2 separate regions of the Homo sapiens genome follow, and region 1 is linked to region 2. The links are contacts of gene promoters, found by promoter capture Hi-C in blood cells and fetal thymus (Javierre and others, 2016). All regions are on one chromosome and are shown on one strand. The core of a region is centred on a gene start or on the middle of the fragment in contact, and the rest is flanking DNA. Distances in the headings are between cores, read along the strand shown. Region 1 overlaps MITF (melanocyte inducing transcription factor). Region 2 holds the start of UBA3 (ubiquitin like modifier activating enzyme 3).

What was found. Contacts are between HindIII fragments. The CHiCAGO score rates a contact against its expected background, and 5 or more counts as called.
Region 1: a fragment that was not itself captured here is called in contact with the fragment with the promoter of UBA3 in region 2 in 1 of 17 cell types (M1 macrophages); the score reaches 5.1 in M1 macrophages.

Annotation. Positions count from the first base shown.
Region 1 is chr3:69,769,655-69,775,212 of GRCh38, reverse strand. The region is part of intron 1 of MITF (melanocyte inducing transcription factor); the gene reads right to left. It also overlaps the pseudogene RN7SL418P. Among named protein-coding and RNA genes, the nearest start is that of MITF, 33 kb to the right of the region's middle. RefSeq lists an enhancer at 4,597-5,558. The HindIII fragment of the contact is 1,963 bases long and covers 2,907-4,869 here.
Region 2 is chr3:69,077,357-69,082,664 of GRCh38, reverse strand. It overlaps UBA3 (ubiquitin like modifier activating enzyme 3), which reads left to right and starts at 2,300. Exons shown (of 18, transcript NM_003968.4): 1 at 2,300-2,331; 2 at 2,512-2,553; 3 at 4,747-4,867. The coding sequence starts at 2,312. RefSeq lists an enhancer at 529-588 and silencers at 2,192-2,261, 2,382-2,471, 2,592-2,821. The HindIII fragment of the contact is 3,356 bases long and covers 1,042-4,397 here.

The DNA of each region.
Region 1 (5,558 bases), core at 2,639-5,138, 690 kb before region 2:
TTTGGAGTAGGGAAACAAACACTGAACATACGGATGCATATAGAATAATTATGTAAACAGCATGAAGGATAAGATTAGGAAACCATAAAAGAAAAGCATGGTAACCTAATTCAGATGAGGGGCAAGGAGGTGGGTTGGGAAGCAACCTTTAAGTGGAGACTAAAGGATGAGTAGAAAGAAAACAGAAGAATGGCAGGAAAATGTTCAAGATGGCAGGAAGAATGTGTGTGAAGGCCTGAGGTGTAAAATAACTGAAAGGAAGCAATGCAATGTGAAAGTCAAGGGCTCTTGGTTCCTGTTTCCAGCGTCAACTTCTGAACCTCAGTTTCCCCTCCAGCTCTAACAGTGCTCATTGGTATGGTCATTTGCCCCCTAAGCATTACCACAGGACAGCTGAGGTGCTAACATGCTAGCCTCCTCCTTCCGAGAGCCACGGTGCTGGTAACCATGGCAACTTTCCTCAGCAGCAAGGCCTCTAGCACCCCACACCCCAACATACACAGGGAGCCTCAGTTGAAGGGGAAAGTCTGGGAAAGTGGCAGCCCTTCTACCTCTTGGAAAGTTGCTTCCAGAATCTTTGACCTGGAAACTTAGAATACTCCTAGGCTGCCCAAGAAGCCAGTTAACAGAACACAAGGAATACATTGCGTCAGTGGATAAAATGACTAGGGCTCCACGTGACTCCCAACAGAGTTCATACTGGAGGCCTGAAGACAAGGTAAGACTAAAGCAATACTTCTCCACAGAGGAAATACAGAAACTGACTAGCCATCCTGCTACCTGGGGTACCAGTCTAGAAGGAGCACTATAACATCACAGGAAGTAGAAGAAATATTCTGGTGGAAGGGAGAAGATTAAGATGTCCAAAGGACATTCTTGAATAATAAAAGACGGTCCCTAAACCATCTTCTAATAAGAGTTACTTACCAGACCTTGGTGTGCCAAACATCATGATGCAACTTTGGGGCAGAGCCAAATTGCTCAGGGCTGTAGAAGAAAGCCTGCCAGGCCTCTGGCACCTCCTAGCATGTGTGGCACTAGGTCTAACTGGTTGTTGAAAATATTAAACATTTTTAAAGGATATTGGTATGAAGACATACCTGAATATTAGTCTGCCTGTGCTCCCATGGGCCTGCACCTAGTCATGGCTTCTGGCCCTCTTTTCTGCCATTAACACCATTTTGTAGGGTACTGTCTTAACCAGGACTGTCTCCTCCATTAACAACACTTTATGAGTTACTGTCTTATCCAGGAATCTCTCCTCCTACTCAATTCCTTAAGACGCTGTGTCTTATTTATCACTGTATCCCAACTGATAGCTCAGTGCAATACTCTACAAATCAATTCTATTTTCTATAACAAAAAATAGTATTAAGGCTAGTGATAAAGCTTATAATCTGTGTTTACCCTTACCATTTAGCCTTCAAGCAACCTTTAACATCAATATATAGAAGTATTAATGCTTCATAGTTTTCAATTTGAGATGTTTATGGAAAATTTTTTAAGTAAATAAAGCACAGAAAGATAATTTACAAATCTGTGGTCCAGCTATGCATACTCAAGGAGAAATGTAATCAGCCATACACATGAAATACTCACAGGAAGGCAACTAATCCAGGGTAACAGTATCAAAACCTGGAAGGTCATGAAAAACTATCCAACCCACAAGCATTGTTTTATAAGAAGGAATAAAATTGAAGCTAAGGATGCTGAATTTATTTGCCCCTACCTAGTGACAAAACCGTGGTTTACATGATCTCCAAATTCACAGACCCCTGTTTTCCCCCACCACACTGGGCTGCTACCTGAATTAATCAGATCATGCTACTCCTTTAGCTAGAAATCTGCAACGGCTCCCAATTTTTAATGAGTAAAAGGCAAAGTCTTTGCAAACCCTTACAGTGTCTGCCTCTGCCCCAATCCCATTCCTTCACTGACCCCACCTCCTGCCATTCCTGGAACTCCCCACTTTGCTCAGCCTGGTCCAGCCGCTGTGGCCATGATGCTGTTACTGAAGTAGACTCACTCCTGTCCAGATACTATGTACTTACTCTTCCTTCTGTCTGCTGTGCTTTGCCCCCAAATACTGGCATGACTCCCTCATCTTCTTTGGGTCTTTTCTCAAATGTCATTTTCTCAGTGAGGCAGTCCTTGTCCACTCAGTTTTAAATTACAAGTCACCCCAAACCCAGCCATGCTTTATCGTTCTCTATAACACTTACCAGCATTTAGCATATTATGCATTTTACTCATTCACATATTTATTTCTACATCTGCTTGCCCATGTAAGTTCCATGAATACAAAGATTTTCAACAGTTTGGTGCCCTGCTGTATTCCTCATACCTAGACAACTTCCTGAAACATAGTAAAACCTCAATAAATATTAGCTCAATAAGTGGGTGTATGGATTGATGGATAGAGTTCAAGAGTGGCCCAAATCCAGAGAATTCAAGAGCTGTGAAACGTTTGCTAGCATCTGGCAGCCCATAGGAAGCAGCTGGTGGCATGGGTGTCATCTACTATCACTATGTACCCACTTTTAACTGACACTCACTGATACTCCGCATGGAAGTCAGTAAACTAAGGAATGAAGTGACATAAAGACTTGTCAAAGCAATCCCTTTTAAGGCTGCATGACTCTCTGGGTTAAAGAGTGAACTAGCAAGTAAATAATTTTTATCAGAAACAAGATGCTGTCACATGCACAGAAGTGGAAATCACTTCTAAATTGCTTCCCTGTGCCCCTCAGCTTAAGACAGAAAAGGATGGTTTGCTTAGATTGGACATCCCAAAAAAGAGACTAGACTCCAAAAACTTTCTGGCATGAACCAACATTTGCCATTAGGCCTGAATGGCTGGCACAGCTGAGCCTCCATGCACCATTCTAAATATAAAACATGAAGCTTCAATTATAACTTAATGACAGATATATAAAGGAAGATATTAAGAGTGCCCAAAAATAAGGCAGTAGGAACCAAGGGTAGATATTAAAACTACATAATATTTGGCCTGGCCATCAAGGAAAAAAAATTAATAACATTCAACCAGACCCAAACTAACATAAGCAGTTTATGCTCTTTCATGTTTAAGAACCCAATAAAGGTTTGCATCCAGGCTACTCTTACCCCACCAGTACCTGAAATAGCAAAATCATCCACAAAGAACAACTTGTCCAAACTTAAAAGACATACATCAATCCTAATTGATGAAAATTAAAAACCAACGATCTCCAAATGCATCACCAATTTCCAGTCTAATTTAGAGCTTTATAGCCCAACACACACATAAATGGAAAAGTAGAAAAGTTTTCCATTCCCAATCTTAGCAATCCCTCTCATGCATCAAGCATGCATCGCGATGGCAGGCTACCCAGTCCAATTCTCTACACACATCTGTTAATCAACATGAACCCCATGTCACATTTTAATTCATTTGCTAGAGAATTTGGGATGATTCAAGTTCTGAATGCTGGTGCCATTTTTAAATGGCATTAATTTCACATGGAAGTATTTCAAAAAAACAAAAAAGGAAAACTACTAGAACTGTTGAAAAATATTTTAGCATTTACTGCAATGGTAACACTTACTTTCCAGTATTCTCAATTTCCTTAGCTAAATTTAAGAGGGCTATAGGTATTCTCTTAAATCTATGATGGCTGAAGCAGCTATGTGTGTGTTGCATCCTATCTGTAGAATCCTCCCCGTTCACTAATGACACACTGCTGGAGAATCACTTGGGACCATTCAAAACCATTAAGGCTATTAACTCTGACTTGGGCCAAGTTTAATAAACAAGTGTCATCCAACAGGAAATGAGTTAAGCTGGCTTGTAAAGTCATTTAAGCAAATACTCAAAGTCAGAGCGCCTGACAAGATGCTTCTCATGGAATTCTTTTGCTGTTGATTTTGCCCAATTTAAATCAGAGCTCACTGGAAGTGTTCATTTCAGGAAAAAAAAAAAAACCCATGTTTAAACGGAGTAACTTTCAGTTGGTTTAAGTGACCACCTAAAAGAATTCCTAAATGTTGCCCAAGTCTCTCTGGCTGTCTCATACATAGCAACAGCAGGTGCACAATAAATACTTAGGAAACCAACATGGAATGAATCCAGGTCCACCTACATAAAATCAAGTTTCTGATCTGGAAATTCTAGATCATAAACAGTCACACATGAGAGAAGCGGTTGCTGTCAGTTACGGTGGTGCTGTATATATTTTTGTCATGTCTAAGTAACACGTGCATTTCAAAATGTGGCCACCTTCGGATACTTGTTAATGCTAAGCCCACACCTAGAACATTTCATTTCCCAAATGAAATCATTCTTATCTTTGAATAGTTCTCTCACATATTACCTTCAAAGAAACCTGTCCTAATAAAAGCCATTCCTACTCTACTTGGCCTCCAGATTTAACCACTTCCTACATTCAACCATCCTGGGACCTAGCTTTACTAGACTTCAATTTTGACCTTATTTATCTTGCCTTTTGTCATAATTGCTTCTTGCTTTCGTGCTCCATTAAACACTAAGGTTTTTGAGAGCAGGAACTCAAAACACTTTAAATTCCTCTCTCTTCATATGCAGTTGCTTTTGCACAGTCAATACACAGTAAATGCTGATTGAATTGAAAGGATCTCACTCTTAGAATGCAATTCTCTCAGAGTCTCCAACTAGTCTAGTAGCTTAAAGACCAATCCTACTTAAAAATTAACTTGAATTGTAAGTACAACAAAATCACTCCAAGTTATTAACCTAACCATTGAAGTGTTTATTTTCCTACTTGGAAAACCAGGTCAACCACAGGGACCAACCTACCCTGGATAGGTGACTCTAAAAGTAATGAGGTAATTTCCTTCAAAAATGACAAAGCTTTCAGGATTCTCTGGAATGCATACCCATTAATGTGTCACCATTAATCATTCCCTTTAGGTAAAAGCAACACTAGAACATTTCAGAATTTTCAAGCAACATCATACTATATACTCAAGTATCAACATAATCTCAATTTGATGGTCCCATGGCTTACACAGGGAGAAGGAATTAGGAGGTAGATTTACCAGAGATACTAAGAAATCTTTTTTCAAATTTATGAAACTATTTCTATACTTATGCCCCAAGGATGTTGTTCACTGCATTTTTATAAGCATACACAAATATCTATCTGAGTGAAAAAATGAATGAGAGGGCAAAGGAGTATGTTTTACTACCAAACTAGCATTGCTAGATTTAGCAAATACAGAATGCCCAGTTGAATTGAATTTCAGATGAATAAAGAATATTTTTTAGTCTCGCTATCCCATGAAATATCTAGAACAAAGTTATAGTAAACAATTATTCTGTATCAGAAATCCAAATTTAACTGGACATTCTGGATTTTATCTGGCAACTCTGCCCCAAATTCAGAAATTGCATTATTGAGTCTCCAGTTTAAAGAAAGAAAAGGCACTGGCACATGCCTGTGGTCCCAGCTATTCAGGAGTCTGAGGCAGGAGGATCAGTTGAGCCCAGGAGTTCCGGGCTGTAGTGCACTTTGCTGATCTGGTGAGTGCAATGAGTTCGG
Region 2 (5,308 bases), core at 1,051-3,550:
TATGGGAGATTTTTTTTTTCTCTAAATATTTCTACCTTTGTTAAATTATTTTAAATAAAAATGAACATGTAATGAGTCATTACTTTTTTCCAGTAACTGTTTGAAATGCTATTAGTAGCAGCTCTTTGTTAGTGTTCATTCCGGGGAGGGAGGGGTCAGATTCACTGTAGAGGTCTTTCTGGAGCTTTAATTTATTATTATTTTTAGAGACAGGGTCTCACTATGTTGCCCAGGCTGGTTTTAAACTCCTGGGCTCAAACAGTCCTCCCACCTCAGCCTCCCAAGTAGCCGGGACTACAGGTGTGGGAAGCCGAGCCCTGCTTGATGGGGCTTTTATAATGGGACTGGTGTGTCTAGATAGGACCATTCAGACTATCTGTCTGTTTAAAAACCATAGCAGATAGTCTAATTGTTTATGATATGTTCCATTTGAAGTAAAATAAATCTGTTGAAGGTTTTGCTTGCATGTCTCTGTTGCTTTCATTCCTGGCAAGGGCAGATGGCTATTTCTAATCCGTCAATCAATCTAAGCCAGTGAGAGTGCCTGGTGTCGTTTATCAAAATACCACCATGGTGAGTCAGGCTGTTAGTCTCAAAGCAAGCAGATGCAGGGCCAGATACCTTTGCAGACTTCTTCATCGGCTAGCTGTACTCTATCCCTAGGCCTCAGTTTCCTCCCCTGTGAAATGGGTGAGACTGGACTAGGTGGCCTTTAAGGTGACTGCTGCTTTTCACTATCTGAGAGGGTTGCAATGCTCACTACCACTAATCAAAGGGTATCCAGTATTGTTGGGGGTTCAGGCTACAGGAGCCCATTTTGATAAGCACTGAGGTTAAATCCTCAGTGAAACCATCTGTGGAGTTGTCTGGGCAAGAAAAAGTAGTTTCATAGTTGACGCTGAGACATGTGATGCAGAAGGAGGCTGGTATCTCTTGATAGGGACTGTGAACTCTATTCCCACGCTCACTGCCTGGCATTGACTTTCAGCTCAGTGAATGCTATTGAACTGAACCTAATTGGGGGACCATAAAGGACAAGCTTTCCTTAAGGTTCACTGAAAACTAGGACAAGAGGAGGTTAAATATCACAGTGTAGTAACAGCAGCTACATTTACTGAGTACCCATCAGGCTTTATGTACTCCATTTCAGTGGCCCTCAAACTTTACCAGTGGAGAATCACCCCAGGCTTTGCAGAAGGCTGAAGGGTGGGGTGGCGGGGGGGCGGTGGGGAGCGTGGTGGGGGCGGTGAGGGGTGAAAATTTGTGTTAAAAAAAACTTCCCAAGTGATGTTGATCAGGAACTGTATTTTGAGAGCCACTCTGGATTTTACTTAATTATCAGTCTTACAAGGTGAATAGTGTTATGCCCACTTTATAAATGAAGAAATAGAAGTGTCTAAGGGTTTCGTAGCTCACAACTGAGAAGAATTTAAAATCAGTTACTTTTGATTCCAAATATCATTCTTGTCCCACTCCATAGAAGGAGATGTGTGTGTACGTGTATATACATACATTTTTGAACATGATCATTTCCCTCTATCCAGCCATCCAGATTCACAGTGTATATTTGTATTTCTGACTCTAGAAGAAAATAATTGAAACTTTTATCACAATTTATCTTTAGGTGATAGGATTATGGGTGTTCTCAGTTATTCTTTGATTTTTGTGATTGTTTTCCTTTATACTTTTTTCTTTGTATCTAAATATACACATTTATCTCAGGAAAAGTTTTAATCATTTTGTTTCCGCTGAACTTATCTAACAGAATGTGACATGAAAATATTAATGCTGATTTGTTCAAAGAAAATAATAATCTCCCACCCCACCAATGTAAACGGATTTAGATAAATTTATTATTCAAGTGAGTACTTATAAAGGCAAAGACTTTGGAACCATCCTGAAAAGCAGAAAGTGAAAATTTCCTTGATCTTTGCCCCCAGAGGAAAGCTCTGGCATACTGGGAGGGTTCTTCACGAATTTTTCATAGAATATACCAATATTTTGTATAATTACGTATTAACATATAGTTTGTGTAAACGCATAATGTATTGTCTACATTTTCACGCTGCAGAGCAACATTATGCACGGTATAAGATTCACCTAATTAAGCGTAGGTAATTAAGATTATAATTACAGGGCAAGACTTTAAAGCCCATGGGAGCCCAGCCGCAGTCAACCTCGCACCTCCCTGCCGGTTGTGTTTCTGGCCTCGCCCCTCCCCGCTTCGCCAGCCCCGCCCCTCCCCGCTTTGCCAGTCCCGCTCCTCCCCGCCCTGCCGCGCGTGGGCACCTGGGAAGAGGCGGAGAACAATATGGCGGATGGCGAGGAGCCGTAAGTACCGGGGCTCTGCAGACGCGCCGGGCTGGGCTGGGTTGTGAGAGAGCGCGGCGGTGGGCGGTTGCCGCCGCCACCCGGGGTCCCCACACCCCCCGCCCCGTCCCCTCGCCCCCCTCCCCTCGCGGCGCCCAGTGTGTAGCGCGATGCTGACCCTTCTTTTATTCTCTCTTTTAGGGAGAAGAAAAGAAGGAGAATAGAGGAGCTGCTGGCTGAGAAGTTAGTGCTGCCGGGAGGCCGGGGCCCTCTCCGGGGACCCCCGCCTCCCCCCACCCCAGGCCTAGGGGACCAGCCGCAGCGGGCCCGGGGGGCTGGGAGGGGGACACCCGGAGCGCAGGCCGCGCTGCCTCATCCCCTGATCCCCGCCCCGCAGCCCCGGGGGCCTGGCGGGCCGCTCCCGGTATCTGCCCGGTGCGGGCGTCGGGGCCAGGCTGTACTGCCCCAGCTCCTGCAGGGGCCCTCCGGGGTGCTTGACGTAAAGGTCTTGAGGAAGGACCCTTGTGCACTCCTCTTCCTCCATCCCAAATTGTCAGAGCAGTGACCCTGTGAAAAGGCAATCTACCTTAAACACACAGGAAAAGGACACAAGACCGTTTTGTGGCCTTTTGCAAACACTGAGACAGTAGTACTAATTGCAAACTTTTAATGATAACTCTACATGTCAGGTATTGTACTAAGCACTCCAGTCATTTTGGCAGAATAATTGGCTCTTAAAAGATCTGGAAAGAGGTTGTTGACTTCAAACAGCCTATTTATCCCTTTTACTACACACCCTATTTCTTATCAGATGCTTAATTCTATGCTGGTGAGACAGATTTAATCGAAGTGTTTTCTAACCTGGCCAGCGCCACATAATTTACTCCCCTCCCTGCCTGGGCAGGGAAAAAATACTCTTGCATTGGTTATGGTGAGTTTGTAAATTTCCGTGCCGATTCCCAGTAGCAGTGCTTTGATCTTTATGTGTGTCCCTCAGTTGAATTTCAGCTGCAAGAGGACCGGGATGACAAACTTAATTTCACATTCTTTCCTGCCTTTTATTTCCCTCCCACTTTTACATGAAATCACAATTAAACATTGCTTACCATATCCCACGTACTGTACTGAGTCTTCTGTGTGATTATCTATATCCTCATGGCTGAAAGAAGTAGCTATGAACGGCCTGCAGATGAGGTTTATGTCTATTAAGTAATCTGCTCAAGGTCACAGTGCTGTTAATTGTGGAACCCAACACAACTCTGACATCAAAACGTATGGTTTTTATTGCTAGGCAATACTTCTTGGTCCCTTTTGTAAAAATTGGATATTACTAATATATTTGACGGTAGAAACTGTGGAGTTATAGGAAATTAGAAAATTAAAAATAATCACAACCAAACGTGAATCTTAACTAAGTATAAAATAGATGAATTTTGTAGAGGAGTCCCACCTTATTCTGTTGTATGTTCTAAAAGGTTTGTAGATGTCTATCTGTGGCGTAATTGTAATCTGAAACTTTGTGTTTAGTGGCAAGAAAAGCCGTCCCACAGCATTAAGAGATTCTTTAAAAAATTAAGACCTCTGCCAGGTTCGGTGGCTCATGCCTGTAATCCCAGCACTTTGGGAGGCCGAGGTGGACGGATTACTTGAGCTCAGGAGTTTCAGACCAGCCTGTGCAACATGGCGAAACCCGTCTCTACTAAAAATACAAAAATTGGCTGGGTATGGTGGCATGTACCTGTAGGCACAGCTACTTGGGAGGCTGAGGCAGGAGAATCACTTGAGCCCAGGAGGGCAAGGCTGCAGTGAGCTGCAGTCACACCACTGCACTCCAGCCTGGGCAACACAGTGAGACTCTGTCACAAAAAAAGAAAAAGAAAAAGAAAAAATAACCTTATTTCTGAGAAAAGTGTGTGAAAATTCCTCTCATCAAAGTGATTTTTAGATTACACCTTTGGAAAGGACACATAAATATTAAATTTGCATCAGACATATAAGCATCAGAATTCTGAAAGTGTGACTTTTTTTCTCTGTTGTATCTCATATTTCCTAATGCAAGTGTGATGAAACAACAGATTGAGGAAGCTTGCAGTGTTTTTTTTGTAAATACCAAATGTAGAGAAGTCAATTTCTCACATAATAGACCAATATCCTAAGTTGAACCTTGGATTGCTTTAGGAAACCAAAAACATGTAGACTGATTTATTTCATCCATTGGGTGAAATAAAAATAGAAACGTGCAGTTCTTAACTTTAAATGAATTGTATAATAGGCAAGAAAAAATTTCAAAGCATAAACATAATCACATTGAATATTTTCCTTTTTATTTGAGCAGGTCTGGTGTGGTTACCTTTTCATTTGGGGATACCATAATAGTTGTAGGTGTGGTTTTTTTCATACTGATCTTTGCAGCTGAATTTACTGTGTTCTGTGCAGAATGGCTGTTGATGGTGGGTGTGGGGACACTGGAGACTGGGAAGGTCGCTGGAACCATGTAAAGAAGTTCCTCGAGCGATCTGGACCCTTCACACACCCTGATTTCGAACCGAGCACTGAAGTGAGAAACGTTTATTTTTAAATAACTGCTCTAATAGTTTTATGTTTCAAAACTAATAGAATGCTTCTTTTTTAATTTGCTCTTACAATGAAAATACTAATAAAATTGTTTTGTGAAACTAAATTTTTCTTAAAATATGAGATTGAATATTCACAACTGATTTTGTTTGAATATTTGAGTCTTAACATTTCTCATGTAATATAAGTTGAAAATTTTTGTGAGAAAAATCTAACTTCATGACCTCATGTAAAAATTTAAAATGCTTTCTGAAACATACTCCCCTTTTGTAGTGCTACTGTGAGAAATTAATTTTGATAGGAGTATAGGTGTGCTTACTTAAATTTTGAAATTTAGTTGGAATGAACATCTTAGCTTTGAGTATAATTAATTGCATGTTAAGAATTATGTAAGTACTAAATAATAGAGGCGTAGAATTTTGGA